Linked DNA regions of Homo sapiens: all the other regions are linked to region 7. Evidence: promoter capture Hi-C in human tissues and cell types (Jung and others, 2019). All regions are on one chromosome and are shown on one strand. The core of a region is centred on a gene start or on the middle of the fragment in contact, and the rest is flanking DNA. Distances in the headings are between cores, read along the strand shown.

Evidence for each region. Contacts are between HindIII fragments. The study calls those that stand out against the background at their distance.
Region 1: a fragment that was not itself captured here is called in contact with the fragment with the promoter of SEMA5A in region 7 in 1 of the 25 tissues and cell types used here (mesenchymal stem cells).
Region 2: a contact is called between a fragment that was not itself captured here and the fragment with the promoter of SEMA5A in region 7, in 1 of the 25 tissues and cell types used here (aorta).
Region 3: a fragment that was not itself captured here is called in contact with the fragment with the promoter of SEMA5A in region 7 in 1 of the 25 tissues and cell types used here (mesenchymal stem cells).
Region 4: a contact is called between a fragment that was not itself captured here and the fragment with the promoter of SEMA5A in region 7, in 1 of the 25 tissues and cell types used here (aorta).
Region 5: a fragment that was not itself captured here is called in contact with the fragment with the promoter of SEMA5A in region 7 in 1 of the 25 tissues and cell types used here (dorsolateral prefrontal cortex).
Region 6: a fragment that was not itself captured here is called in contact with the fragment with the promoter of SEMA5A in region 7 in 1 of the 25 tissues and cell types used here (dorsolateral prefrontal cortex).

Annotation. Positions count from the first base shown.
Region 1 is chr5:9,152,465-9,156,528 of GRCh38, forward strand. SEMA5A (semaphorin 5A) reads right to left here. Exons shown (of 23, transcript NM_003966.3): 12 at 2,024-2,231. Among named protein-coding and RNA genes, the nearest start is that of MIR4636, 100 kb to the left of the region's middle. RefSeq lists an enhancer at 3,866-3,935. The HindIII fragment of the contact is 3,389 bases long and covers 1-3,165 here.
Region 2 is chr5:9,050,121-9,054,361 of GRCh38, forward strand. SEMA5A (semaphorin 5A) reads right to left here. Exons shown (of 23, transcript NM_003966.3): 19 at 3,967-4,137; 20 at 1,753-1,908; 21 at 290-337. MIR4636 (microRNA 4636) reads right to left here and starts at 3,775; the gene lies at 3,696-3,775. The HindIII fragment of the contact is 9,174 bases long and covers 1-4,241 here.
Region 3 is chr5:9,067,777-9,071,897 of GRCh38, forward strand. All of the region lies in intron 16 of SEMA5A (semaphorin 5A), which reads right to left. Among named protein-coding and RNA genes, the nearest start is that of MIR4636, 16 kb to the left of the region's middle. The HindIII fragment of the contact is 3,533 bases long and covers 301-3,833 here.
Region 4 is chr5:9,248,185-9,251,994 of GRCh38, forward strand. The region is part of intron 5 of SEMA5A (semaphorin 5A); the gene reads right to left. Among named protein-coding and RNA genes, the nearest start is that of MIR4636, 200 kb to the left of the region's middle. The HindIII fragment of the contact is 4,321 bases long and covers 306-3,810 here.
Region 5 is chr5:9,181,971-9,186,220 of GRCh38, forward strand. The region is part of intron 11 of SEMA5A (semaphorin 5A); the gene reads right to left. It overlaps LOC124901170 (a long non-coding RNA gene), which reads left to right. Exons shown (of 2, transcript XR_007059120.1): 1 at 1-1,486; 2 at 4,070-4,250. Among named protein-coding and RNA genes, the nearest start is that of MIR4636, 130 kb to the left of the region's middle. The HindIII fragment of the contact is 3,359 bases long and covers 1-3,169 here.
Region 6 is chr5:9,925,030-9,929,293 of GRCh38, forward strand. No RefSeq gene overlaps it. Among named protein-coding and RNA genes, the nearest start is that of LINC02112, 23 kb to the left of the region's middle. The HindIII fragment of the contact is 4,916 bases long and covers 1-4,033 here.
Region 7 is chr5:9,543,935-9,547,638 of GRCh38, forward strand. SEMA5A (semaphorin 5A) reads right to left here and starts at 2,141. Exons shown (of 23, transcript NM_003966.3): 1 at 1,650-2,141. It overlaps SNHG18 (small nucleolar RNA host gene 18), which reads left to right and starts at 2,266. Exons shown (of 3, transcript NR_045196.2): 1 at 2,266-2,596. RefSeq lists a silencer at 2,075-2,264. The HindIII fragment of the contact is 8,719 bases long and covers 1-3,704 here.

The DNA of each region.
Region 1 (4,064 bases), core at 221-2,720, 390 kb before region 7:
GCAGTTAATAAATACCACTAGCTGTTATTAATGTTCACAATATCATTATGATTAGCTGGGAGGTTCCTGGCATTATTCCTCAACTCTCTCTCTCATTTCAAAGGAGACATTAAAGACTTCATTTTCTAGAATCATCTTGACAGGCTTATTGCTGTGATTACACATCAAAACCTTCCTTCCACCTAAGAATACTCACTTTGCAGAGTGCTTAAATTTTATACTCTATATATTATCCTATTTGAGTCTACAGCAATTCACATGTGTTGAGTGACAAAGTGAATTCTGAAATACTTTTGCGACCTGGGTCAAGAAACAGCAACAACAGGGCTGGGCGCAGTGGCACACGCCTGTAATCCCAGCACTTTGGGAGACAGAGGCAGGTGGATCACTCAAGGTCAGGAATTCGGGACCAGCCTGGCCAACATGGTGAAACCCTGTCTCTACTAAAAATACAAAAATTAGCTGGGCATGCTGGCACATGTAATTTCAGCTACTCAGGAGGCTGAGGAAAGAGAATCGCTTGAACCCAGGAGGTGGAGATTGCAGTGAGCCGAGATCACACCACTGCACTCCAGCCTGGGTTACAGAGCAAGACTCCATTTCAGAAAAAAAAAAAAAAGGCAACAACAGGTCTGTTCCATGAACCCTAGCTTCTGAGTTCCAAAGCCAGTGTAACTTGGCACCTTGTTTAGAGAGAGAGTGGCCTGTGTAGGGTAGATGTCTGTGAGTGATATATCAAAAAGGACTATTTCTACTCCAAATCTGCAATTACACCCTGCTTTAGGAGTGGAATTAAACAAGATGCCTAAGAACATTTAAGATTCTGATTTCCCCAAGGGCGATCTTTTGTCAGGGATCAGAGTGTATATACAATCTCCCGGAGTAAAGTGCTGGTCAGGTGTGTGATGTATACAGTACTTTTTCATTTCCTAAGTACCTGGGCCAACATGTTTCCAAATTAAACTTTAAACACAACTGTGGTTGATCGTGGATGTCCCACGGAAGATAAGACTGGCCTGAGGGTGAAGGAAGATGCAATGACTCTTGGGTTTCCCTGTGGCTGGAGACCTCCCTCCCTACCCTCTCTGCAGGCTCAGGAGAGAAGCAGCACTCCAGGGGAGCTGGTGCCAAGGACAGTGGCGGGGGAGGGGGGGGTGTCCCGGAAAGTGGGTGCCACTGCAGCAACATCAACCACTCCTTCTTCTCAAGGGGTTATCAGCATATGAGCTGTGGTCGAGAAGGACGTATACCTTATAATATTTTTTGTTATTTCTATATTCAAATAAAATACAAGCTTGAGGCCAGGTGCAGTAGCTCAAGCCTGTAATCCCAGGACTTTGGGAGGCAGAGGTGGACAGATCACTTGAGGTCAGGAGTTCAAGACCAGCCTGGCCAACATGGTGAAACCCTGTCTCTACTAAAAATACCAAAATTAGCCAGGCATGATGGCACACATCTGTATTCCCAGCTACTTGGGAGGCTGAGGCACGAGAATCACTTGAACCTGGCAGCCAGAGGTTGCAGTGAGCTGAGGTCTCACCATTGTACTCTAGCCTGGGTGACAGAGTGAGACTGTGTCTCAAAAAAAAAAAAAAAAAATATATATATATATATATATATATATATATATGTGTGTGTGTGTATGTGTGTGTATGTATGTATGTGTGTGTGTGTATATATATATACATATATATAAGCTTGTGCCAGATTAACATATTAATACAGTCATCAAATATCAGTATTACCACTGAGTGTTCTAAGGCACTGAATAATTTATTTTAACCCTGACAACTTCTTACAGGTATTATAACGTGGCTCCTCCTCTGAGGAGAACTGGTGGGTTATTCTCATCACAGTGAATCTATTTTAATGAAAGCTCTGCATCCTAGAGCACAGGACTCTCAGAGGCATGAAGGGTGGCTCTGAGGCCATTCAACTTCAGGGCATCTGAAGCCTCCCTGGCTCTCTCTGGGTGGGCCCTTCACACACACACCAGTGCATCCTGACCCCGGAGATGCCCTACCTGCGTGTGCGGTAGAACTGGCACCTCTTCAGGGGGATCTTGACCACGTGCTCCCGCAGGCCCACGAACAGGACACTCTGGCTGTGCAGGATCTGCAGGCTCCTGATGGGCTCCCTCCGCCTCTCAGGGAAGAGCTCAATCTCTTCCAGCAAACAGCTGCTTGAGGTCTGATTCAGGGGTACCCGCACTTTCTTAATGGTTCCGTAATCTATGAAGGTCACAGGATGAAAAGGAAACAAGGTCAGAGGGTCTCACAAACCAATCCCTGGTTAAACAGAGTGTGCTGTGTATGCAGCCATGGATCTTCAGCCAGGAAAGCCATCTGAGCATCCTTCAAAAACAGTACACCTGGACACCACTGCAGACCAGTTAGGTCAGCTGCACTGGATGTGGGGCCCAGGCAGCAGTATCTTTTAAAATGATGCTCTCATGTAGCAAGGGATGAGGACTAATCATGTCCGATTGGACCCTTCCAGTTCCAAGTCTCGGGATGGAGAGCTCAAAGTAGCAAGCTTTGTGCCATCCCATGGAAAACATCAGGAAAGAAAGACCCTCAAGGGACGATCTTGGATTCTTAGTGACAGAGATGCTGATTTTGGTGCCCAGCAGGGCAAGGAAAATGCAATGTGATTGGCAGCTTCAAATATCCAGTACGACTGTGATGCCCCCTCCTCCTTCCTGCCACGAGAAGTACACCCTCCTCCATCTCCCTCTCTCCTCTGTCTACATTAGCTCCTTCTTTCCTCCTAGTGCTTGCTCTTTGGGATGATTTTCTTGGGCTCAACTCCTCCAAACTTTCTTTCTTGTGCTTCTGAGTATTAATTTCTGGCCTGATCCAAGCCCTCCCCGCTCCAGGCTTCTTGCTCCCTGGGTGTTTCTGTGCACTTATTTATCTGCTTGACTGCTAGCACTGCTGGAGGGTGAGCGGCCCCTGAGCCATGCAGCCTTCCCAGCTTAGGGGGACACACAGTTGAAACGAACATTGCTCTCCCAGGTACCCTGTGCTGCACCCCGCAACTCCTTGCTGACACCCTGCAAATCCCAGGCATGAAATCCAGCCTTCTGGAAGCCGCTTAGAGATCCACTCAAGTACCTGGAATCATCCTGAAGGCCCTGACTGAATAAAACCTTCCATGATCCCGAGTTTCAAAACATCATGGTTCTTATTTTGCAAACACAGAAAATGAGTTTAAGGAGTTATTCTAAAACCAGAAGTAGTCAAGAATATTTGACTTCAAGGCCTCCTATCAAGCAATTCATTGCAAAAGACCTTGGATAAAATACTTTACATTTTTCTCTCTCTATGAAAGCCATAGAGATGGAGGCTATTTGTGTTTAAAAAAATACATAAGCAGACATGTTTTAGCCTGAATTTACTTTAAAAAGCATATCTGAAACATCTCCAGTGAGCATTTTCTGATTATACACTGACTGAAAAATCATGTAGACAGTATTGGCAAACAATTGCTTGCTTTCATTTTAAGCTAACTGGTTAAATATGCTACTTTTTAAAAAGGTCAATCATACACTGAAGTATGCTATATGCGGGGAAGATTTTAAAATGATCTTGAGGAAAGAGCATGTATTTGTGTTCATGTAAAAGGGTGAGGACAAAAGAGAGAACGAGAGAGGGAAGAGAAAGGGGCAGCTGTGGCGTAGAGAGGCAGACATTTTAGCAAATTCACAGTTCACAGATGTAAGCATGTAAGAAAAAATTTATGTCTTAATTCTATAATTCAAATTAATTTTGACTTGGACATCACAGTTCATAAGCTTGTTGGAAAATTCAGCCTCAATGATTCTTAGGTCTCTCTGCCTGGGGTACAGCGAAGAGTCAATAAACTTACACAGCACCAAGGAACTAACAGGGACAAGATGGGGGCTTCAGGGAAGGTGACATCAGCTCACATGTGTCAGCCACAGGCCCTGCAAGGAGGTCCCCATGAGGCACCAGCAGAGGGAGGTGTCAGCCTTCCTGTGGAGCAGTGATGGGCATAGAGCCTGTGGCTGCCTTTGCGACATCATTACACAAGAGGACATC
Region 2 (4,241 bases), core at 976-3,475, 490 kb before region 7:
GGTCCTGATTCTGTGGATCAAGGTGGGGCCTGAGGATCTGCATTCCCATCAAGTTCCCAGGCCATGCCCTGGACGTGGGTCTACGCACCCCATTTTGAGAACCACCGATCGGTACATCAAATATTGACTATTAAGCCTTTATGCCAAGGTAGAATGCCTGGGATCCATGACTTTCTCCGGTTTTTCATTCTTGGCCAAGAGGCAGAAAAATTATAGAAAACATGCAGGAAGGGAAATGATTAGAATATATCAGTACATCCATTACAACTACTTAAAAGGAATAACGTACCTCCACACCTTTTCTCTTCTACGCTACTGGATCTTGCCACAGATACTTCTGGAAAAAGAAAAGTCGAATCACAATGTGTAAAAGGTGTTCAGAAGACAGTCCACATTCATGCTTCATGTATGTTTGTCTAATGATTCTGAATGTTATGTGACACAAAGTTTCAAAAGCTTGATTAATTATCAGAAAAATTCTACTTGTTTCTTTGCTTGTTTTAACCAACCTGATATGGATTTGGCCAAATCACCTTGACTGGGGAGAGATAAGATTCATTTATCACAGAAAGATAATGCTATGGTCTCTCAGGCTGAAAGCAGGGAATGTGCTCATTTTCCATTACAAGGTGTCTTGCCGGGGGGATCCCCCCACTCTGCCCAACACACAGAGTACTCCTGTGGTATTCCTGCTTCTGAGACTTGTTCCATCAAAGCCAGTGTTGTCACCTTCCCGGCAGAGGGAGGGCCCATTCACCAGAGCTCAAGGACATCTCCAGAACAAGTGAAGTCCCTCTTCAGGAGGCCACTGATGCTCTTGGCATGCCACACATGAAACCCACAGTAGGATGCAGAGAGAGGCCACATCTCATACATGTTTTAACTCCTGAGGATAAAATATCACTCGGTAGTCTAGAAACACCATTCTTTCCTGTACTGATTTTTTGTTAGACAACAAGAATTAAAAATATGTCTATCGTTAAAAAGGAAAACAATAACAACCACTCTTATAGTTCTGTGCCGTACATGACTGAGGTATGGTATGCTAATTTTCTCTAAAATAGTATCTTTTGCACAGACGAAAGAAAACAAAGAAAACTGGCTTATAGAATTCAACTCTACTATTTATTTGTAAGAGGCTGGTCCACCTAACAGTCCTAAGGCACACAGTGGACATATGCGCAATGATCTATGCATTCATATAGCACCTTCTCACAGTGAGCATGCAACAAGTGATCAGCTATCACCAACAACTACACACTGACTTTACCATGAGAAGCTGGTTGAATGAGGGCCAACCTCTTCTCCAACAGGAGAATAATGATGCATTTCTACCTTCTCAAGTATATTAAAGATAGCATAAAGAGAATGGTGCTTTTTCTCTGTGTGCCAGTGCATACACAGCGAGCACTGCCTAAACATTTAACCTAATATTAAAATAACCAAATAACCAAAACATATTTAATAATAACCAAATATTTTCATTTTTTTGAGCAAAGTCTTCTGATTGCATTATAGTTGATAAACTGCAAAAGACACTTTTCCTAAGAAATCTTAAATTCATGAACTGAATTCATGTTTAAATCTGCAGTTATCTATAGACCTACGTTTTAAACACCTTGAAACCATGGGGCTTGATGGAATCATCTCTATTTCACCAAATAAGCCAAATAAAACTCTGACCTATGAATCATTTTCTCTCTCCATGTTGGAAATGATTTTATTCTTACTGATAAATACCTCTGCTCTTACCTGGGATGAAATTAGAGTCAAACACACACGGCCGGCTCTCCGTGGTGTTCCCGGAGCACTGGCTGCCCATGGGGAACAGGAGGATGCACTGGCGGGCGCGGACTTGGACGCCAGAGGCTTCACACTCAGACCAGTCCGACCACTCCGACCAGCTCTCTGCAGAGACCAGAAAAGGGGAGATGGGGCGGAATGGCCAGTAAGCTCAATCATCCTAGACTCACTGGCAAGTTACATATGTGATTTCTGGATTCCAGGATTCCATAGCATATTTTTAATGGTTCTGTGCATCAGTAAGATGTAGTTGTATCATCTAACAGATCCAGTACATACAGTACACACGAGGATGAATAAAAGTGCCTGCGCTGTTATATATTTGATCAGATATCATGAGCTTAAAATAAACATTATTTTAACGTTATAAAGTAATTGTATTTAGACACTCAATAAGTGAATCCATGAGACCCAGCTGTGTGCAGACCATCAGCAGCAGCGGTACATAAGTCATCAATGCAGATGCCATTTTGCTATGGGTAATGCTCCCCTCAAAGAAACTCAAATGCTTTCCTGAAACATTCCTGAAAATTCTCCACCTTCCTCTGTGCTCAGGCGAGAGAAATAATTGTGTGCTCATGAGAGTCCTGGGTTGCTGAAAGGGAGTCTGAAGCTACACAATTACTTTCTTTTCTGTTATAAAAACAATTCCGCAGAGTCAACATGCCAAAGTCAGGTGACCCTTGATGTAGAATTCATCTTATCTCGTGTTTGCTGTCTCTGAAGAGATAAGGTCAATGCACAAGTCTTGGGTCAAGGCCAAAAGAGGGGCATTGAAAGGATACTTCATCCCGAAGTGGAAGATTTACTAGGATGTGTGAAATTCACCCAGGCATACAGATGTGTGAAAAGAAAGGAGTAAGACTCCTATATAAGTAAGAAGGTTAAAAAAAAAAAACTCTGGATATTGTTTATGGAATTTTAATCAGGATAAAAAGGTATTTTTCTATGCAGTTTGCTTTTTTCCCCTTTTTAAATAGAAGCATCCACTTTGTAGTGGCAGGGAAAATTTGAAAATCAAACTTGTGCTTTGCTCCAGTTAAAGGGTAAAATGTTTCCTTAGAAATGCAGAAAGTGCCAGTTTTTGGAATGACAGTGAGAATCTGGCTTTAAGGCCCTTTTCAATATACATAGAACCTTCTAGAAAGATGTGCAGGAGCAAGCTAAAAAAAATTGTGTGTTTCAATGTCAAAGTTAGACCAAGAAAAGAATAGCTCATTTTCATTCCAGGTCATTCCTTCATGTCAGTAAACCAAGCTATTTCTGGGATGGTGGTGGTGGTGGAGGCCCCAAGCGCCTGCATCAGCCACAGGGAGCTTGAAGCGAGGAGCTCCCACACCCACGGGCCCAAGGCTGGCTCCTATGAGGTGCACTTCACAGCGGTGCTCCCTGCTCTCCACCCTGATTTTCAACAACAAAACCTCAGACTCTGTTATTAGGCTACTGGCTTTAAGAATGCTTTGCTATCACCAGTTTCTGTTGTTTGCTGTGCTCCTCCACTTACTGATTTGATGTCATGCTTTTTCTTTCCTTTAATTGCACTACCTCTAAATTACAGCCCATCGACCATGGATGAAGCATCCTGCAAGAGTGCTTAGTGTCCCCTTGTCACATTTTAGAAGTCATTCCTGGAACACAGGTCTGGAGATCTTTGGAAGACATGTGGCTGCACCCAGGCTGGTTTTGAGACAAAAAGGCTGCAGGCGATTTCCCCACTCAGACCTCCAGACTCCATGGGGGGCACTAAAAATGTTCGTTCTTTCCCACCTTTCCTTGGACTTTCTCCCTCAACACAGCAAGGTGTCACCTGTGGGTCACTAGTGTTAATTAGCAAAGTCAAGAATAAATTGGGATGTTTCCTAATTAGGGAGATTGGGTGTTGTAACATGCCATAGATTCAGAACTCGTGCTTGAAGCCTTTAGCACTCTCCCATTGCTGGGCTAAAGGCTTTGAACACGAGTTCTGAATCTATAGCTCAGTGAGAACTATTTTATTATAGATGCTATGTTTTAAAGTCACTTCAAGGGTAATAGCATGTTGCTAACTTGCCCACCCCCCTTTCAGTACTTACCATGATGCAGTATCATCAATTACACCATTTATCCATTAAGGAAAGAGGCCAATTTGTCTGAAAGCTGTGCAGTAGGTGAGGTGCCGCTTACCTGGGCAGGGCTGCGTGTTGCAGAGTGCCTCTTCTGTGTGCAGCCCCAGGCAGATGTCCCCTCCATAGGCCGGGGCTGGATTGGAGCAAGAGCGGGTCCTCATATAGTGTCCACCGCCGCATGTTGCTGAACATTTTGTCCAGGGGGACCAGCAAGACCACACGCCATCCACTGTGAAGAAACACAATGTCACAGCTCTTCTATAATCCAATCCCAACCAAGTGAAAGGAGTTACTAAATGGAAGCTAAGTGGATTCTGTTTAGTAAGGGAAACA
Region 3 (4,121 bases), core at 817-3,316, 480 kb before region 7:
ATCTCTTATCTTTTGGATGTAAACTCATTTATCCATTTTCACGTTTCTCATCTTTTATCTCATAGTTTCCATATCTTCATCTTTTGCTTTAGTTTCTGGAAGATTTCCTCAACCTTATCTTTCAAAATGATGATTGAAATATTCATCTTCTCTACTACATTTTAAATTTCCAAAAGCCCTTTTGTGTCTTTTTTTTTGGTTCTTGATTATTCCCTGTTATTGTATGCTATTCTTATTTTTTTGGTCACACTACTTTCTCCAATTTGAGCACATTGATGATTTGAATACTCTGAGTACTTTGATGAATTATTTCAAGGTTGTAGTCTTTCTCTATAGCTTCTGTATCTTCTAATTGCTGAATTCCCTTTGCTTTTTTGGATCTCTATCTTTCTTGTTAGATTGTTTCTTCTGTGATCTGAACAGTCTTTGTTTTCTGCTCTGATTTAGAGTGGAGGGCTAAAAAGTTTAACTGGAAGGTCTGTAGCACAGAGAAGTCTGTAGACCTGGTCAGATCTGGTTGAGATCTTTAAACAGAATTTAAGAATCTTTGTCAGAATCTTAAACCTTTCCTGCTGGACTCTTCAGAGACCCCTGAGAAGACTGCTCCAGTGTCTTGCCTGTCTGGATGCTGGAGGCTGAGCCATGGAGGATCTGGGAGCTGAGTGGAGGAAGAGGGCAGAACTCTCAGTGTCCAGTAGACACCCACTTATCTCACTCTGCCGTTCTCAGTTCTGAAGCACCCAGTTAACTGAGCCCAGTGCTCAGAGGTCCAGAGACGCTCTGTTTTCCTCTCCAGAAAATAAGCTTCCTATCATCTGCTGGACAGAGCAGGTCTAGTCCCCTTGGTGGAGTGGGAGAGAGGTATGGAGGTCTGATAACTTCTTAAACAGAAGTCACCCAATGTTGTTTTGCCACTAACAAAAAAAATGGGGCTGTGGATTCCTAAGCTCTCTGAGGGGTCTCTGGTGTGCATTGAGATGATTATTTTCATGTATGTGCTGGGGGTCCCCAAGATCCCTCCAGTTTCTATGATTAGATAGCAGGATCCATAGGACTCTGTGTGCAGCAGTGTTCTCAGCTAAAATGTATTACGGTAAAAGACTACAAAGCAAAATCAGCAAAGAGAAAATGCACATGGGGTAGAAGTGCAGACAAAGCCAGGCAGCACAACCAAGAGTCCTCTCTCAGCAGAGTCATGAAGGATGTGCTCAGGTCGCCCAGCAGCTAGTTGTGATGACGTACAGGGAAGGTGGTCTACCAGGGAAGCTCACTGGAGACTTGGTGCTCAGGGTTTTCACCGGGGTCTGGTTGCAGAAGCATCCTTGTTTTGCATGTACCAAAAGTTCAGATTCCCCCAAGGAAGCTTTCAGTATACACCACATTGTTTGTACAGACAATTTAAGCACAGAGAGCCATTCTTGCCATCTGGGAATGGTAGAAACCTTCCTGAAATCCAGATTCCCAGATGCCAGCCAACAGCTAGCCTTGCGAGCAGGCCTTTCTAAGAATCACAGGACTGGGAAGCATTGTCTTCCACATAGTTCTCCTCTGTTAGACTTGAATTCATGCTTCTTCGATGTATTTCCAGATTCTACTTTTTAAAAACAACATGGTTCTTTCTCTTTTTTTCTGACTTTGCGCATTCATGCCTTGAAAAATCAACCCCTCTAACACTGTATTAGTATGTTTCCAGTGGGATAGAAAGCAACTTGTGTGTCCATGCCACCAACTTTACCTGGGAACCTAATACAATCTTTATTTTGTACTGTTTTAAATACTCTAACTAGCTTTCTTTACTCACAATGCATTTATTTTTTATTTTTTTTACAGCGGATAACACTCAGGATTTTTGTGACATCATAGGCTTTTAACAGAAAATATGTAAGGCGATCATCGCTGTTTCTTTGATTTAATACTCTCTAGGCATTCCTCCCGGCCTGCATGATCTCTACATCAACAAATACTAGAAAGATAGATGACTTCATTTTCTTGTGTTTATAGCATCTTTTATTATGGCATCTTTTGAATGCTGCCTCTTAAATGAAAAAGCCCCAATGAATGCCATAAACCCAGTCATGTGAAAAGCCAGGCACAACGCGTGTGTGATCTCTTTCACTTGGAATGAAAACCACATGACAGGAAAGCCATAAACCCTTGTCTTGGACCCTCTGTGCCTCTAGTGTGGGGATGCTCTCACCTCTGGATTGAGAATGTCATATGCCACTGCCCTTCCCTCCCTCACTCCGAGCCAGCCTGGCCAGATAAGAATCCTGGAGTTCCTTGCTGAAATGGGCTCAAAACACATGCAGCTCGGCCATGCGTGGTGGCTCACATCTGTAATCCCAGCACTTTGGGAAGCCAAGGTGGGCGGATCACCTGAGGTCAGGAGTTCGAGACCAGCCTGGCCAACATGGTGAAACCCTGTCTCTACTAAAAATACAAAAATTAGCGGGGCATGGTGGCAGGTGCCTGTAGTCCCAGCTACTCGGGAGGCTGAGGCATGAGAATTGCTTGAATCTGGGAGGCGGAGGTTGCAGTGAGCCGACATTGTGCCACTGCACTCCAGCCTGGGCAGCAGAGTGAGACTCCATCTCAAAAAAACAAACAAACAAAAATCATGTGCAGTTTATGGGCCTCTGTTTGAAAAGTGCTGGTCTTTAGGTCTTAACAAATGCAGCATTACCTATAAATTAGTAAAATCCTACATCTTCATAAACAGATTTATAGGATACCACCAATAATTCTTAGGTTTCCCACACTGCAAACTTCATTCTTTCTATGGAGATGAAGTTTAATTTTTGAAATGTATGAGGGGCAAATGTGTTTGAAAGCTGGCTCAAGTGTCTGCATTGGCATCTGTGTGTTGGTCCCAGAGGTGGGCACAGCTCACGGCTAAGAAAGATCAGTTTAGTCTCTTCAGATCTAAGCCTCCAACAACAGTCTGTTCTTATGTTCTTATTTTCTCATGGTTCAAAATTTAACATGAGACTCAGAATTTCTCCTTTCAAGTGCTTTTTGAGGTTTAATTATGATACATTCACTTGAAGTATCAAATTATGAAATGGTGAGAAATGGTATGGCCAATTTGTTTTATCTTAATGAGCAAAATCATGAAGTGATTTAATTCTATTGTGATCACTTATATGGCTTAACTGAATATGTATGTTACAATTTACTAGAGAACTGCTGCTGTAACTATCCAAATGTAAATGGAACTTTAACAAAACTGCACTTAATACTAAAGAGATAAATGATTTTAAAAAGGATTTCAGGAAGCTAACTATTATGATTTGGCACCTAAGGTTCTTAATATTCTGGTGCAAAATATGAGATAAGAATGCTTACTAAAGCAATTATAAATAATTCCTCCAAATATGTTCCCCACGTATTATGTATTCCAGTCAACAGTGATAAAAGCACTCATTTAAATGTTTAATCCTGCAACCCGGGAGACACTCTGCCAGTTCTCCCTTACTTCTATGCCAAGTACTACAGTCATGGCTTCCTGTGTTCCTTCTGTCCTCTCCATCTTAATTGCCTCTTCTAATTCAGGCCCCCATCACCATAGGCCTGATTTAGAGAATCAAAGCATGTAGTTCCTTAAAGCTTAAGTGCCTATTTATAATTCTGCATCCACTAATAGACTGCAAATTTGTCAAAAGCAAGAACTTTGTCACGTTTATTTTATATTACCAATCTTGGGCATAGTAACACTATTTGGTAAATGGATAAATCATATTGATTAAGTAACAGATAAGTCTACTGAGATGAAATTTGCATACATTTGGGGAACAGATTTAGATAGTTAAGTGGGACCTCCTGTTTTGCTGTTTATTTTTCCCTTGAGAAAATTAAAATATCTCATATTTCATACATTGCAAGTAAAGTAGAGAGACAGAGACAACCCAAGCAGAATTTTGATACCACATGCTCAGAGTGAAGCCCAAAAATTACCCTTCAAGTCATCTCATCCACAACTGAATATGTAAATCAAATTTATTCTCATATGGAATACTTATGGTTTCCATATGCATTTATCAAGTTCTCTTTCAGTAACTAAGCTTGGCCTGCTGAGACTGAAAGCAATTCACATTAGAGAAATAACAAAGTAATTGAATTGT
Region 4 (3,810 bases), core at 1,216-3,715, 300 kb before region 7:
GAGAATAAGAGTTGGTGAATTTTTAATGTCTGTAACATCTGGGATATGTTGATGGAAAATTGATGCCTTTTGTTATAATTTTACAACAAAATGAAGAGAACATGAGGCACTCCTTCCCTTCCATCTATTTAAATCATTCCTTTTGTTATGTGATTAGCCAGGGTTGGCAACTAATTGCCAAATGTTACAACTTCACTCAATTTCCTACTAAAGGAATTTGATTTTGAAATAAATTAATTGCCTACACCAATTAGGGCCTTGAAACACAACTTTGTGTATATCTGAGGGTGGAGCATTGGAGTAGGATGAACACTGGTCCCTTAAAAGATATCCATCATCATCTCTGCAACCTGTGAAGTTAACTCATACGGCAAAAAAAAAAAAGAAAAAAGAAAAGGACTGAAGATAATTAAATTAAGGATCTTGAGATGGAGACATTAATCTATTATTCAGGGAGCATCTCAACATCACTGAAAACATTCTCATATGAAGCAGGCAGAGGAAGATGCGGAGCATACAGAGGAGAAGGAAATATGACCGTGGAGGCAGAGATAGTGATGAAGGAGCCTCAAGTCAAGGAGGCCGGCAGCCACCCGAAGCCAAAAGAGAAAAAGAACAAATTATTTCCCCCAAACTTCTGGAGAAAGTGTGGCCCGGGGGACCCCTTTATTTTAGTCGCATAAGAATTAATTTGGACTCCTAGCCTCCAGAACTGTGAGAGAAAAAATTTCTGTTGCTCTAACCCACCAAGTTCATGATAATTTGTCACAGCAGCCATACAAAACTAATACATACATACATACACATGAATTACACACATGAACACAGTCACACTCAAGCGAGTTTAGGAGCATGGGGTGGACATGTTAGTATCTGTGTGTCCATCTACCAAACATCTGGGCCAGGCCCATTGTACGAAATTGGAACATGTCATCCCAAAATATGCCTTTGTCATGGGATTATTTTGAGCTGATTATTTTGAGAAAGCCTAGACACAGGAGAAGCTCTGAAAACAGAGTAGAAATTGTGTTTGTGTAAGGTAAGCTTACATCTATAAAGGAAATCTCTATTTGTAAGGGTGTCTCCCCTACTGTACCAGGAAGAGAAATATGATCCTGGTCAGGAGATAAGTCAATGGAGAAGCCACTGACTTAAATGTGCACAACAAACCTTACTCCGGCTAACCATGCCATTTCTGGTCACGTTGCCATTACTTACCTCTCCCACACACTTCTTTCTTTAATCTAGCTGAAGATGGTATTTAAGCTTGAATTCTAAGATATCTCTTTGAGAGTGACTCATTTCCCTGGGTATCTCCCGTGTGTGTAAGACATAAACATATTTTTATAACTTGTTTTTCTATTGTTAATATGTCTTTTGTTACAAGGGCCCAGCTGAGAATTTAGAAGAGTAGAGGGAAAATTATTTCTTCCTGCCCTACAATATATATGAAAGATGTAGTTGTTGATATAAAAGACCTCTTAAGGAAAACATGCTGTGATCTTGGGCGTCTTGAAGGGGAACACTCAACCCAGATGTAGGGATCTGGAGATGGATGAAGGAACATTTCTTAGGGAGGTCAAGGCTTGAGCTGGATCTTGAAGCAATTGACCAGTGAGTGAATAAGTGGAAGAGTAGATGTTCAAGAAAAGCAAATGAATAAGCTGGTGCAAAGGCCTGAAATGGGAAGAAAGGACATCTAAGCTGGAGAACTGGACCCCAGGGTGGGGATTGGAGAGGTCTCTGGCTACACGCTGATATGCAGCTCAGGACAGGCCTCCTGAACCATGCTAAAAGAAGTTAGTTCAGATTTATTTTTCATGAGTTGAAGAAAAGCCATGAATAAAATTTTAAGCAAGATATTGGCATGGTGAGAGACAAGTAGTTGAGAAAGACTTCTCTGTGGGTATAAGACCTGGAAAGCAGTGTGGCTGTAGTGGTGAATACAAGGAGAGTGATGTAGAGGTCATTGCAGGCAACCAGCAGGTAGGCATTGGGAACCTGAAATTAGCAGGGACAATAGGGATAGAAGAAGGGATGGGTAACCAGCAATTTAGTAGTGGGAAGGGCACTGTCTTTTGATCATGTAGATGTGTGGGTGGACAGCAGTAGCACAAGTCTGCCTAATCTACAGTATGAAACTAATTCCCACCCATTCCTTAAGCTGGGTTTGGACTGAATGCCACACACAATTCTGAACTGCTTTCTTTCCACCCCCATAAGTAACTTTAACCTTAGACAAATAAAACTACCTATACGATCCTGTTTAAAGAAAACACAATAAGACAGTAAATCTTCCAAAATAGCAAAGTAGTTCAAGAAAAAAGACCGAATTCATACAATGTTTTGATCATCACACTTTTAAATCAAACACACTTTAGTTCATTGGTAATACATTCTGGATTTTTAAAACAAATGGAAAACCAACCAAAGAAAATCTTATGAATCACATGAAAGTTACCTTTAAAACTGTAGGAATTCAAAGTAATTCAGTACAAGAACTTCTTTTTCAAAGTAATACAATAATGATTTATTTGTTTGGAATTCTGTGTCCTAAGTCAAGCAAATAAGATATAAAAAATTACACAAACATAAATTTCAAAATGAGAGAAAACTTACAACTCTTGACTTCCAAGACATTTAGCAAAGCTAAAGAAGTTGGAATTTAAAAGTGGAAAAACATAAGAAAAATAGACTAACAAATTAAGATTTTCATATCTATTAGTATTACATTTTTCTTAGATTTTCACATGCTATGGTTTTAATGCTCCACCAAAATTTATGTTGAAATTTAATTGCTGTTGTAAGTATTAAGAGGTAAGACCTTTAGGGGACAACTAGGTCTTGAGAGCTCTGTCCTACTAAATGGGACTAATGCCATTGTCTCAGGAGTGGGTTAGTTATAACTGGAGTGGGTTTCTGAGAAAAGGATAAATTTGGGCTAGTGTTCTCCCTCTGTCTCATGAGCTTTCTTCATATGATGCCTTCCATACTAGGATGACTCTAGTCAGAAGCTGGCACCAAACTCTTGGACCTCACAGCCTCCAGAACCATGAGTCAAATAACCTAATATTTTATATAAATTACCCAGCCTATGGTAATCTAACAGCAGAAAAAGTGCTAGACATCACATCTGAGAAAAATTCTGAAAAGAGCCATGCTATTAAATGCTGATATTAATTGTCTCCAACCTAGAAGAGGGAGGGCATTTCTTCCTTAATCAGCCAACTTTAGAATTCACACTAAAGTTTCAGCTGTACTGTGTCTCAATTATAATTCACAATATCAACAGCAAAAATTCAATGCTATTTTCTAAAAATACTTTAGGTATGACTCTGATTTCTCAAGTTTTGACTATGACTATGAGTCATGACTACCAACATTTAGATCAGCACTATGAGATTAACCAGAACCAATATGTAAATGTATACGGCAGAAAGCCATCAATCAATCTGGAGTGGACACAATGTTTCCAAGTGTAACTATAATAGAGGAGCAAAGCAAAAACAGAATCCTGGAATCAGACAATGTGTGACAGTACAACAGCCTAAAAGAGCTGCCGGCAAGACATATTGGGAAAGTTAGTCCAAAGGAGCACATCCATGCTCAAGAGATAAGAATGAATCAACTCCTGATGGGGAAGATGGCTGGTACTCTTCTGCCCATCATAACTAACTCTACCCTCCCAACAATCTAGGGTATAGGTACCAGTATTACATTCATCTTACACAGTAGGTAGAAAGGAGCTTAACAACTTGCCAAAGATTACTGAGCTTTTAAATGGATGGCCTGGGATTATGAAGTCAGGCC
Region 5 (4,250 bases), core at 240-2,739, 360 kb before region 7:
CTCTCTGCACCCCAATTTTCCATGAAAGACAGCACAACTTCCAACTTTAATGGACCTGTTTCTCTCCGCACATTGCACGTTTCTTCTTACCACTGAAAGCCCTGCCTCCCCCATCTCATCTTCCTGTTTCGTTTTTTCCTATTTAACATTTAATGCAACTGCTTGTTTTATTGCTTCTGCCCCCCACCCCAAAAAAAAATACGCTTCCTGAGGACAGGGTGTCTGTCTGTCTTGTCCATTGCTGAACCCTCTCCAGTGAATTTTGGCACAAAAACTCCAGTGTCTTCTTTTCAGCAAAGGCCACGAGAAGTATCAACTGTCCAAACCAAAAACATCAGGAGTCATTCTTAATTGCACCCATTCTCTCACTCCTCCAAAACACCTGCTGCATCTGTCAGCTTCTCTTCAAGAAATTAACCAAGAGCAGCATTTCTCAAACTGATAGGTGTTCCATTATCACTTCTACAAGAAGACTTCTCACATTTTTCCTGATTGTCCCCTCACCCATGAAATTTTACTACAGATATTCTGTACTGTATATTTGCTTGTATAGTCCATGTCTATTTGAATAAAAATAAGATTTTTTGTCCCCCTAAGAACCAATGTTTGCTTCATTGAGGGTGACATCTGCCTATCTTCTGGCTGAGCATGCCATGCTCACCTCCTCCTAGACCACCTTGATGACTTCAATAGCTTTGACCCCAGCCTACTCTTCCTTACTCAGTTACAATGCAATGACATCTAGAATGCCTGCTTATTTTTATACAATGGCGGATCCTGTAGCAATACAGTACTGTTGGTTTAGAAAGAAATTGTACCCCAAACTTTACCCTCCTTCTACCCTTTTTGTTATCCTCTGATTAATTCTCCAGGATGTATAGATAGTAATCTTTGAAAACATGCATCATATCATGTAACTTCTTTTCTTTACAGAACTTTCAGTAATTATTATTATGCTTAGATTAAAATCTGAATTTTTAAACATAGCTAGAAGGCACATATTAGCTATCCCTGCCTGCATCTGGAGCCTAGAAACTCTACAGGGTTGAATGAACTCCAGGCATTGTTGGATCTCTTACTGTGGTTGCCTAGAAAACAGAGGGAAGGATTCAAGTATTTGGTGCTAATGCATTACTGGGGGTGCAATCCCAGGGCTGTGTGGTGAGGGAAAGGAATAGGGAGCAGGAAAGAGCAGGAAGTGGTGCTATATGATTTGTTACCATGGGGCTCTTCCTTTATGATGAAACAGAAAGAGACATCTGCTTGGCTACATGAGAAGCCTGCCCTTGGACAGCCGCCTGGAGGTGAAAATGGAAGGGGAATTCACCAGTTGCGTTCTGCCCATACCCGACATCCCTCTGGGTGAGGCTTGCTTCATGGAGAGTTCATCCTCCTGCACTTCTGGGCTGCAGCTACCAGCTCTTCCAGCACCTGCTTGAGAAGCCATATCCCACTCCCAGAAGCGTGCGATCTCATCCAAGCCCAGGTGCAGCAACAGCGCCACAGACGCCTGACCACCAGCTGCTCAGCATCAACTGGAGGAACCTCCTGGTCCTGCCCAGGAATCTGTCAGCCACGGGGGCAGCTGAGGCAGAGCAAATGGCCAAGGGTTCAGGGTCAAGTAAGGCTGAGAGAACCTGCGGTTGAACTTACGACCTGACCAATGAGCGGTCCTTCTCTGTTGTCTGAGCTCATTATGCTCCATTGCACCCCAGAGCCTTGGCTCACGTGACACCTTATTGCTTCTTCCTCAGATAGTAAAATGGGTCCCCAACACCTCACTTGCCCTCTTTCCACAACGTCTTTCCTGAGGTTTTTGTTCTGATTTTCTTCTTTGGCTAGCAGCCAAGGTTGTCTGTTTTTGAAGTAGGAATCACAGATACATTATCCCTAAATTTTCCATGTACCTTTATTTTTGATGGAAAGATTAGCCTAGAATAACATTCTTGAGTCACATTTATTTTCCTCTAATGTGTGTATATATTGTTCTACTTGAAATCTGGTATTGAGTGTTCCCCTATTTTGGTTTTACTTTCTCAAACCTTCTCTCATCATTTGGCTGAATTTAGCCCCTAATTAGTCTTATTTCATGTTTGTAAAAGAGATTTTTGGTTTTCTATTCCTTGAGATTTTCATTTTTGTGAGTGTCTGTTTTTTTTTATTCTTGGATGAGTATAACATGCTCAATTCACATTTTCTTTTTCTCAGAATATTGCATAACCATGTTTCACAGATTTATACAGCTGCAGAGTATCCTGAGACCATGTGATTTTTTTTCATTTTTAGTTTTTTTTTTCCTCCTCAATACCTAAATAATTATTTCTGTATTCTTGGAATTTAAAAACTTACCTGGCTAGTGTTCCTTTATTCTGAATTAATATTGCACAAATACAGTATGCTTTGAAATTTGCAGACTCAATTCTTCCTTTATTGCAGGGTAATTTTCTCCAATAGTGTCTTTGGGCACAAGTTTTTAGCTCCACAGACAGGGTTCTTTGGTTCAAAGACACCAATCACTCTGTGTGGTCCATTGTCTTTGTGGGTCCTTCATATTTAAAACCTTATCTTTTATTTCTACATTTTCCACCTTAATCACTGCAAACATTTACTCTGTGTCTAAGCTTTAGCTGTGTTTTTGTTTCCATGAAGTTTCTAATTTAATTTTTACTCTTGTAGTAGAATAGCACGTCATTTTGATCTTCTATTTATTCGCTTATCTCTGTGAACTTCCTTTTCATCTCATTTTGTTTCTTTCATCATTTCAACTCTGGGTACTGACTTTATTTACATTTCTCTCCCTTTTTTTTCCAAGCAAAGTAACTTTGTGGCACATGTCCTGCTCCTGCTGGGATGCCTTCTATTCCATTTGCTTTTCTGTAGACTGAAGTGACAGGACAGGGATGCAGAGAAGGAAGCTCAGCCCAGGCTCCCTCTTTGTTGAAGGTCTTGAGCCTTCATATTTTTTTTTCCTTTTTGAGACAGCATCTTACTCTGCTTCCCAGGCTGGCGTACAATGGTGCAATCCTAGCTCATTGCAGCCTCAAATTCCTAGGCTCAAGCAATCCTCCCAACTCAGCCTCCAGAGTAGCTGGGACTGCAGGTGCTCACCACCATACCTGCCTAATTTTAAAAATGTTTGTAGATGTGCAGTTCCACTATGTTGTCCATGCTGGTCTCAAACTTCTAGCCTCGAGTGATTCTCCTGTTTTGTCCTCCCGAAGTTCTGGGATTACAGGTGTGAGCCACTGTGCCCAGCTCTATTTTTTGAGATTTCTATAAATATTTCATTCCACAATACAATTAACCTTGGGGCTAGGGGAAGAGAAGGAAACAGAGGTGATAAACATGGCACAATCTCACATGAGTTCAGCAGCTAGAAGCATATAAACCTCTATATGAATGTTTCCTGCTTTATATTCATCTATTAGCTGCCCCTGATTTTTCTATGTAAAATTTTGCAAGTTTGAAATGAAAAACAATGATTCAAAATGTGTGTGTGTATGTCTTCTTCCTTTACATTTCTTTAGTGCCTGATAGGTGTTTTTATATAAATGTTTATGAATTATCCTCTAACTAAAACAATTTATAAAATATAACACAAAAAGAGATCACATTCCTTTTAAAAAATATATTTATTGAGATATAATTTGCATGCCATAAAATTCACCCACTGATTTTTAGTATATTCTGAGTTGTGCAATTATTGCCACAATCTAAGCTTAGAACATTTTAAGATTATATACAATTTAAGGTTCAAATGCTTTTCTAAACACTAGAATTGAGTTAAAGTGAAAATAAAAATGATATATCTCATCCTAGAAGGGAGAATAGAAAGCCCAAGACTGAATGGCATTGTGGGGGAGGGAGCATAGAATTAGAACAACCATGGCCATGCTGTGGAAAAAGCCCAGAGCGGCAGCCACATGTCTGGACCAGGAGTGCATGTGGGACTGCGAGGGACTGTCACAGTGGTGGGGAAGAGCCAGTGGAGAAGTGTTTCCAAGTCAAGTAAGGGAGAAACTCCCAGAATACCTGATTGCTCAGCATGACCTTAATTTTGTCTTTGTAGAGAACTCAATAGCATATGAGACTCCGTCACTAACAGAACTCCAGTCATAAATATTCTACCATTTCCACTTGACTCTGGCTCTGAGAAAATCTTCAAAAACCAACTTACAAAATATTAGCACAGTCATGATTCAGATAACATGCCTGGCCCTGGGTGGATGGACACCAGGAGAGATACAGGG
Region 6 (4,264 bases), core at 326-2,825, 380 kb after region 7:
CTCACATTCTGAACAGGCGACACCACCTCTGGGTGCATCTGACCCCTCATTCTCACTACTGAGCACCCATGGACTGAAACATGGTGGCACATTACTGCAAATCATGGGCAACTTAACACCACCATTCAACAGCTGCAGTCACCTGAGACTGGCCTGGACCAGAACTGACCAGCTGAACCCAGCCCAAATTGCAACCTTAATAATTGCAGACTATGCTGAATTTTTTTTATCTTGCCCAAATTCCTATCTAAGGGGTCTGGGGAGTCATACCCTACAAACTATAAATTCTCACCAGATGGGTTTTATTTAACCCTATATATCGTGACTTACTTTCCAAATCCAATATGGCATATAACACTATGTGACAAAGAAGAAAGTCAACATATTTTATCCCAAAACATGTTTCTTTGCCATATTTTAAAATGGTCCTGCAAAGCTGTCCTTTCTGGGTAAAAATGTACATTTGTAAAGAATCTCTATTAACATAGCTAGATCTTTTTCTTCCAGGCCTCCCAATCCTCAGGAGATTAAGTAGGAGTCTAACACCTTTTACAGGAAACATTTGTCATCTATTGTCTCTAAGGGCAGCCACTGTAAGACTTCAAAAGAACCCAGGTCTCCACAATCTTTTATTTTAACCTGAAGGTTTTCTTTCTATTGATCCCAGGTCTTTAGACAAACTCAACCAATTGTCAGTAGGAAAATGTTTAAATTTACCTATAGCCTGGAAGCCCCTCCCACTTTGAGTTGTCCTGCCTTTCTGAACCAATGTGTTTCTCAAATGTAATTTGATTGATGTCTCATGCCTCCCTAAAATGTATAAAACCAAGTTGCACCCCAACCACCTTGGGCACTTGTTCTCAGGACCTCCTGAGGGCTGTGTCACAGGCCATGGTCACTCATATTTGGCTCAGAATAAATCTTTTCAAACATTTTACAGAGTTTGAGTCTTTTTGTTGACAGAATCATTTATTAAATGGTTAGCATTTCAAGCCACTAAGCTTTGAGATGGTTTGTAATGAAGCAAAGACTAACTGATATGTTACTATAGAACAACAACAACTAAAAAAAAAAGCCTAGAAGGCTATATCCTAAATTGTTAATAGTGGTTACCTCTATGTAGAAATTACAGATGACTTCTGGTTCATTCTTTTTAGCATCTCTGCATACTGTTTATAATAAGTGCATATTATGTCTGCAAGCATAAAAAACAATTAAAATCCATTTCATTTTGAAAAATAATTTTTAAATTGATCTCTCCCTTCTTAGATTTCCTGCAGTAATTACTGTTTGCATGACTAATTCACCAATTAACCATGAAGTGTTTTGATATCAAAAACTGATATTTAAGGCTTTCATTGTTATTTGACTATGGCAATGGAACATGCAGTGATACTTTTTAAAAATGCTGTGTATCATCCATAGTTATTAAGCCTATGACTGGCATACAGCATGGAGCCACCAATGATATTATTTACTTTGATTTGAAATCACTGTTTTGTATTAACAAATAAGGCAGAGTAAAGAGTAGAATATCTGCAAGAAGAGGAGAGGTCCTGGCAATGGCAGTGTCCAAAATAAACCTGAGTTACCTGAAAACTCAACACCAAAGCATTTAGTGCCCACTTGCAACTGCCTATGCCCTGTGGTAAGAGTGGGGATTCCTGTGGCCATGCCACGATTCTCTGCTCAATGTCCAATTTCAAGCTTAATTCAGATTGATTTAAACATGCATATACATATCTACCAGAGAATTAAACAAACCATGGAAATTTAGAATACAAATTAAAATTTCTTCTAGAGACCTAATCTGGAAAAAGAATAGTATTTGAAAACTAGTAAAGCAAACAATGTAGAAAAAATGGCTTAAGCAAAAAGGGTTCAGATGTGAAAGAAATCATCCTTAACTAACTTTCCAGAATTTAATTTTTAAAGAATATGGCCAAGAAGTCAAAATTTATTCACCTCCATCGAAGTTGATGAAGAAATGTAAGAAAGCAGGTGTTATGTAGCTTTATTTGATTTTTCAAAAAGACTCCATGTAAAGCTTTAAGAGAGAGAACAAAATAGTAGATGACAAAAACTAAGCAAATACTAGATTAAGAAACTAAAGTGAGCCTCCCTTGCCTTCAACTTTGAGTTAGCAAGGAGAGTCACTGGCTCCTTCAAGGAGCACTGCCACGCATCATAAAGCTAAGTGGCTCTGACAAGGATCTGAACAACAGGGCTCTAAAATCTGCTGACAACACTAAAATGGGAGTTGCAAAGAAGAATGAGGAGCTGTGTGACCAGGTTTAAAGGAATCTCAATCATTTAGGTAATTGGGCCAGCAGATGGCAAATGCAGTGCATTCTGGAAGACTGTGAAATAATTAGTCTGAAAGACAGAAGCTAATCTAGTAATAATGATCTTCCATTTATGTAGCATTATTTTTTACAAAGCACCTTTCACCAAGTGGTTCCCATAGTGCCTTCTGTAATGATCATGCATGGTATGTTAATGTGTTCACAGTGATAGAACAGGCACTCTTGGTGGAACAGTGTAATCTGCACGACTGTCGCCCAGAAGAGAAGGTGATGCCCGAAGGAGAGGTGGGAAACTCCCAAGGTGATTCGCCAAATAGAAATACCTTTTGGACACTAAGGTTAGAGAACTAAACCAGCAGGATGTTTGCTTGAATTTGAATGATGACTCATGAAGGATCAGAATGCTATTTCCTTGGGGTGAGATTAAAAAATATGTGTGTACCAGGATTTAGAGGTTTATCTCTAAATAAAGGCTGAAAGAATTTAGCTTTATCTTTCTAAAATGATAAAAGCACCACACATCTTTTTTTAAAAAAACAACAACTACTTTCAGTTAGCCAAGTGAAACTTTTCAGTTTTGTAAATAATTCCCAAGGTTAAACAGGAAACATGCTGAGTAGTTCAAGGGAGAGTGGAGAGAACATTGTTTCACAGGCTGCATTTGCTTCCCTCCCTCAGAAGCAAACCTCTTCTCTCCCCCTCTACTCCCCTTCTTCTAGAACTTAGTCAAAGCAGAGTTTGTAGGATCAATATGGCCAGGGGCTGCCATATTGATCAGAGCAGCTCTAGAGAGTGAATCAGGCTGTGGTGCCCTAGAAAGAAATATCAGAAGGTCTGTTTCCAATGTCCTGTGTGACCTGAAGCTCTTCCTTCTCTAAATCATTATTAGCCATAAACGTTCACTGCAGATGATCATTTCTTAATCAGAAAAATACTTCTTTACTGCACTTGGCTCTTTTCCACTCATGCTAACAGATACCACATTTCCCCATGTCCCTTTCTCCCTGGCATAAAACACACCTTTCCTCTACCTGTGCGGAACAGCCCATGCTTCCTCCTCTGCCCTGCCCCCTCCCACTTCCCTCTCACATTCTGAACAGGCGACACCACCTCTGGGTGCATCCAACACCTCATTCGCACTACTGAGCACCCATGGACTGAAACGTGGTGGCACATTACTGCAAATCACAGGCAACTTAACACCACCATTCAACAGCTGCAAGCAAGCCATTCCAAGCAGAGGAATTCTCACAGTCACGGTGCTTCAATAACGCATTAGAGCTTTTTGAGTTTCTTGTCTGTCTTACAGTTGTTGTTATTTTTGTGTTAGCTAGCAAACAAAGCTACATAAACTGTTATGAAAAGTATGCCCTCTAAGACCTGCCTAATTTTATCTAATTCCAGGATCCTAAAAATTTTTCTGGGTGTGAATTTTGTTCCATTTTCTTCCAGGAAAGTCTAAGAGTGTGTTACCCAAATAGTGCTCCACCAGGAGAAATCCAAAGCTGGTAAGATGTGCCTGAGGATCTGGCAAAAATCAGCATCCATGGTCTTGGGGATTGCAAATATTCTGCTTGCAGCCTCTTCGTAGATTCTTTTACAGATGGCAATTTTATATTGCTTTACACTGTAACAAGAAGGAAATAAATGGGGCTCTTATACTTCTCCTCTTCACTGATGCCAGGAGAACATAGCCTCTGGTTCCCACCAGCAGGACCTTCTCACTGTTCTTGGCACAAGAAGATGCCAGCAAGTAAAAGTTGCTAAGCATTGCTTTTAGATTGAAAATAAGATGCACATGGTAGGTTTCACTGCATGACTTAAGCAAAGTGCCAGGTTCTGTTTTCTTTTAAATATTCTCACTAGAGGGATGGGAGAGGGGAGAAAAAGTGTCAGAATAATCTACAAATCAAAATGCTTTTTAATGGGGATGTGGACCACGGCTTTCCTTTGCTGGT
Region 7 (3,704 bases), core at 891-3,390:
TCAGTTATACATAACTTAATGGTATTATCTGCTTGAACTGAAGTTGTGTAAAGTGGTCATGATAAACATTACACTCTCTAAAATAATGAAACTGGCATTAATTAGCAACAAATTCAGCAATCCTAATTAGGTATTGAAAAATCTTTCTTATTAAAGCCTGGTTTTGTGTTTCTGTCTCCTTATGAACAGACTACCTCTATAATTAATAACATATCTGCTGATTCCAAACTCAGCCATTATGACAGAGCTCTTCTCGGTAAGCTAGACGTAAAACTTGTCTTTCTTCAAAACAAACCAGAACAATCATTTGTGACTCCTGATGTGTTAACTAAAGTACCCCTAAAAAGCAGAACGGTATTAAACAAAGCTCACGTTATCTTCCCTCAATTTCGATTTCTTTCTGAGTAAATGTAACAGTCACAAGGAAGGCAGATGCCCAGACAAGGAAGACTTTACAGCGATCTTTTTCTCTGGAAGAGACCTTTCTAGTTAGAGCATTTATGTCTGGCCACCACCTTTCCTGTCCCCTCTCCTAGCAAGGCTGACAGCTCTCTATAGCCACCAGATCAGCTCCCCCAACCCCCGGCCCCCAAAATGAAATTATTGCAAGATCTGCCTGGTTCTGCTGTTTGTTGCCTGGGACTCCCGCCCACTCGCCCAGGACCCAGCAACTGCCTGTGGCGCCTCGTCCTCCGAGCGCTCGCTCGCAGCGCCCCCTGCCGGGAATCCCGAGGACGCCGCAGGCGCAGGAAAGTTAAATCCCAACTCCGGCCGCGGCATCCTGGTACAAAGCAAGCAAAGGGCGAGGAGGTGAACGCGCTTCCCGCCAAAGCCAGGGGAACAGGGATGTGACCGCTCCAAGCCAGGCACCGGCCGCCGCGGGGAGCGAGCCGGGGGAATCACTCCTCCACGACCGTTCCCACGCACATCTTGGGAGAAACCATTCCCTCTGGAGCCCGATCTGCCCGAAACCCTGGGGTCTGAAACCCTGAGCCGCGGTGTGCAAAATCCGTGGAGCAGCGGAGGGATGCCTGGTGAAAGGGGCTCGCCTAGCTGCAGCGCACCTGGCTGGTGGTTCCCCAGGCCTCTGCATCCCCCGCCTTAGTGTCTTTCATTAACCAAGGCGCTTGGCGGAGTTGAGCCCAAGTCCCATTGCCTCCCGGTTCCCCTGTAAGGAAAGCAGGAAAACCTGCCCAAGCCGGTGGGGCTGCGAGGTGGCCGCTCCCGAACCGCCAAGTCCCGACCTCCGTGTCCCCTGCCCCCGGCTCGCGGCAGTGCGAGCCTGGAGGCGCGCCGGGGGCGGGCACAGACCAGTGTGCGCACCTTTCCGGGTGTTGGGCAGGGGTCCCGTCTCGCCCACCGCGACACTCCGGCTCCTTACCTCTCCATGCTCAGACCTCGGCACAGGCGGGTACACAAACTTCCAGCCCGTGCACTAGCTCAACTGTGGGCGCCCCCGGACTGACGGTCGTCCTAATCCTGTACGCGCAACCCCCGCCCAGGTGCCTGCTGATGGATCCCACCCGAGATCGGCACCACCCACCAGCCGACCGCTGCAGTCCCCGGGTCCCGGCCAGCGGCGCGGCGCGGCGCGGCGCGGTCAGGGGCTCCTGCCAAGGCCACGCAGGAATCGGGCGGGGGTCGCTCACCAGGTGCGAGGAGCGCTGGTGCCAGTCATCCAGCGCCTGGGGGCCAGAGCGGCTCCGAGGATCCTCTTCAGCACCTGGCTAGGGAAGTGGAGGCAGCAGCTGCAGCCGCCCCCTGCCACTTCCCCAGAGCCGCCCCCTACTCGCTGAGTTCCAGAATGGGGGCACCGGCTTGGGGGCCACGAGCACGGTCCCCGAGCGCGCGGCCAACCGGTGGGTGGGCAGGTTCGCGCCCAGCAGAGACGACCCTCGAGGTGGCAAAGTTGGGTGTCCAAGCCAGCTCCGCGGGGCAGTCCTGGGTGGGAGAAGGGAGCGTCCCGGGATGAGCGACACTGGCCGGGCCGCCCCTGCACGGGGAAGGTGGAGGGCCGGGGCTGCAGCGGGCCAAGGGCCGCGGCTGGCCTGAGGCTGCGAAGCCCACCCGCGGCGGGAAAGCAGCGCTCGGGAGCGGGCTCAGGGAGAGCAGCCGCCACCGGCGCCGCCTTCCCGGCAAGTAGATCGGCGCGGGGCGAGCGGGCGCGGAGAGCGCGGGGCGGAGAGCGCTGGGCGGGGAGCGGGGGACAGCCTGGGCCCACCCCCGCCCCGCCCCGCCCCTGCCCCGCCCCCGCCGCCGCGCCGCCTCCTCCTCCTCCTCCTCCCCGCCGGGGTGAAACTCGAGCGCCCCACCCGCGCCTGACCTCCCCGAGCCCCTCCCCGGGCCCCGCCCCTTCCCGGTACAGGACCCCCACCTTCGCTCCTGGGAGCCCCGCTGCACCCCAGGAGTTCCATTCCAGCCTCCCCAGTGCGAGTGCGGCCGAGCGCTGACTTTTGGGGGCTCCCTCCCCCGTCTCACTGGGTCCCTCTGCGGCTCCCCCGCCCGCTGTCCCGGTTCAGACGTGGCTGCACCCCGGAGGGGGGCGCCGGCCGAGACCTGAGACGTGGCGCTCCCTCTCTGCCGGCCTCGGCTTCAGGTACGTGCGGTTCCCTCGGCTAAATCTGGCCCGGGGGATGGGGGGCAGGGGCCGTCTGGTCCTCCGGAACTCGAACTTTGTGATTTTGTTCTTTCTGTGTGACATCCTCATCCGTTCTGAGGGAGAAACTCCTTAAAGAAGACGAGAGAGTCAGTCGTTGCGGGTTCTTGGAGGAGCACTTTGGGGGTGAGACTCCCGGCTAGTTCGGGTCGATTTCAGCGGGATTAAGTCAAGGAAATGAACAAATCTGACGAATCAGGGAGGCCAGAGAAGGCGTCCCCAGGTAGCCACGCTGAGCGTTAAGAGAGAAGTCCCGTATGGTCAAAGTCATTCGTCCAATTCTGTGTCAATTATTCCTTGTTGCACTTTTGCAGGATCCTTGGGCCTTACTAAGTACTCAGGTGAAAAGTTGATAATTGGGAAGCAAGTAAAGTACCTTTGAAGACGTGTATAATTGGACACTTTGTTGCAGTTCTTCAGTTTCTGGAGGAGGCGGTGGGGGGGGAGAGGGAGGGGGTCAGCCTCGCGAAAAGAGCAAATGGTAAAGTTATAGGAGTATAAGGCATAAAACTTGGGTTGGGAGTCCTGACTGGCCTTGAGTGGCCCTTTCCCACTGGATGGGGGTGCGGGACAGTATCTCTGGGCCCTTTTTACTCAGTCTGCGCCTCAGAGGGAGGCTTGAAGGTCCCCTGCATGAGGAAATGTGTGAATTGCCCCCTCCTGACCGCAGTGAGGTAGGGACCCCCGCAAGGACCCACGTTCACACCAGCGCCCTTCCAGCCAGTGGTGGGGTATGGATGGGCCTCGCTGGTCCTGGGCATGGTCCGGTGCGTCCATAAGGGTTCCATTGAGCTCATCCATAAAACAAAGAAGCTATTGCAGGCTGCAGGGTGTCATAGCTCGCACAGTAGCCATGCAGACCTAAGAGGACAATGGAAATACAAATTGCTATCGATGTGTCTTTATTTTCTAGAACTTTTTTTTAAAATAAAAGAATTAAGTGAAAGCAATTCCGAAGGTTTCTATGAAAGCCCAGCCCATCCCCAAATGCCCAGTCTCTGGCACGGGTGATCTGGCTGTCTTGGGTACTCAGGCCTTACTGGGATTT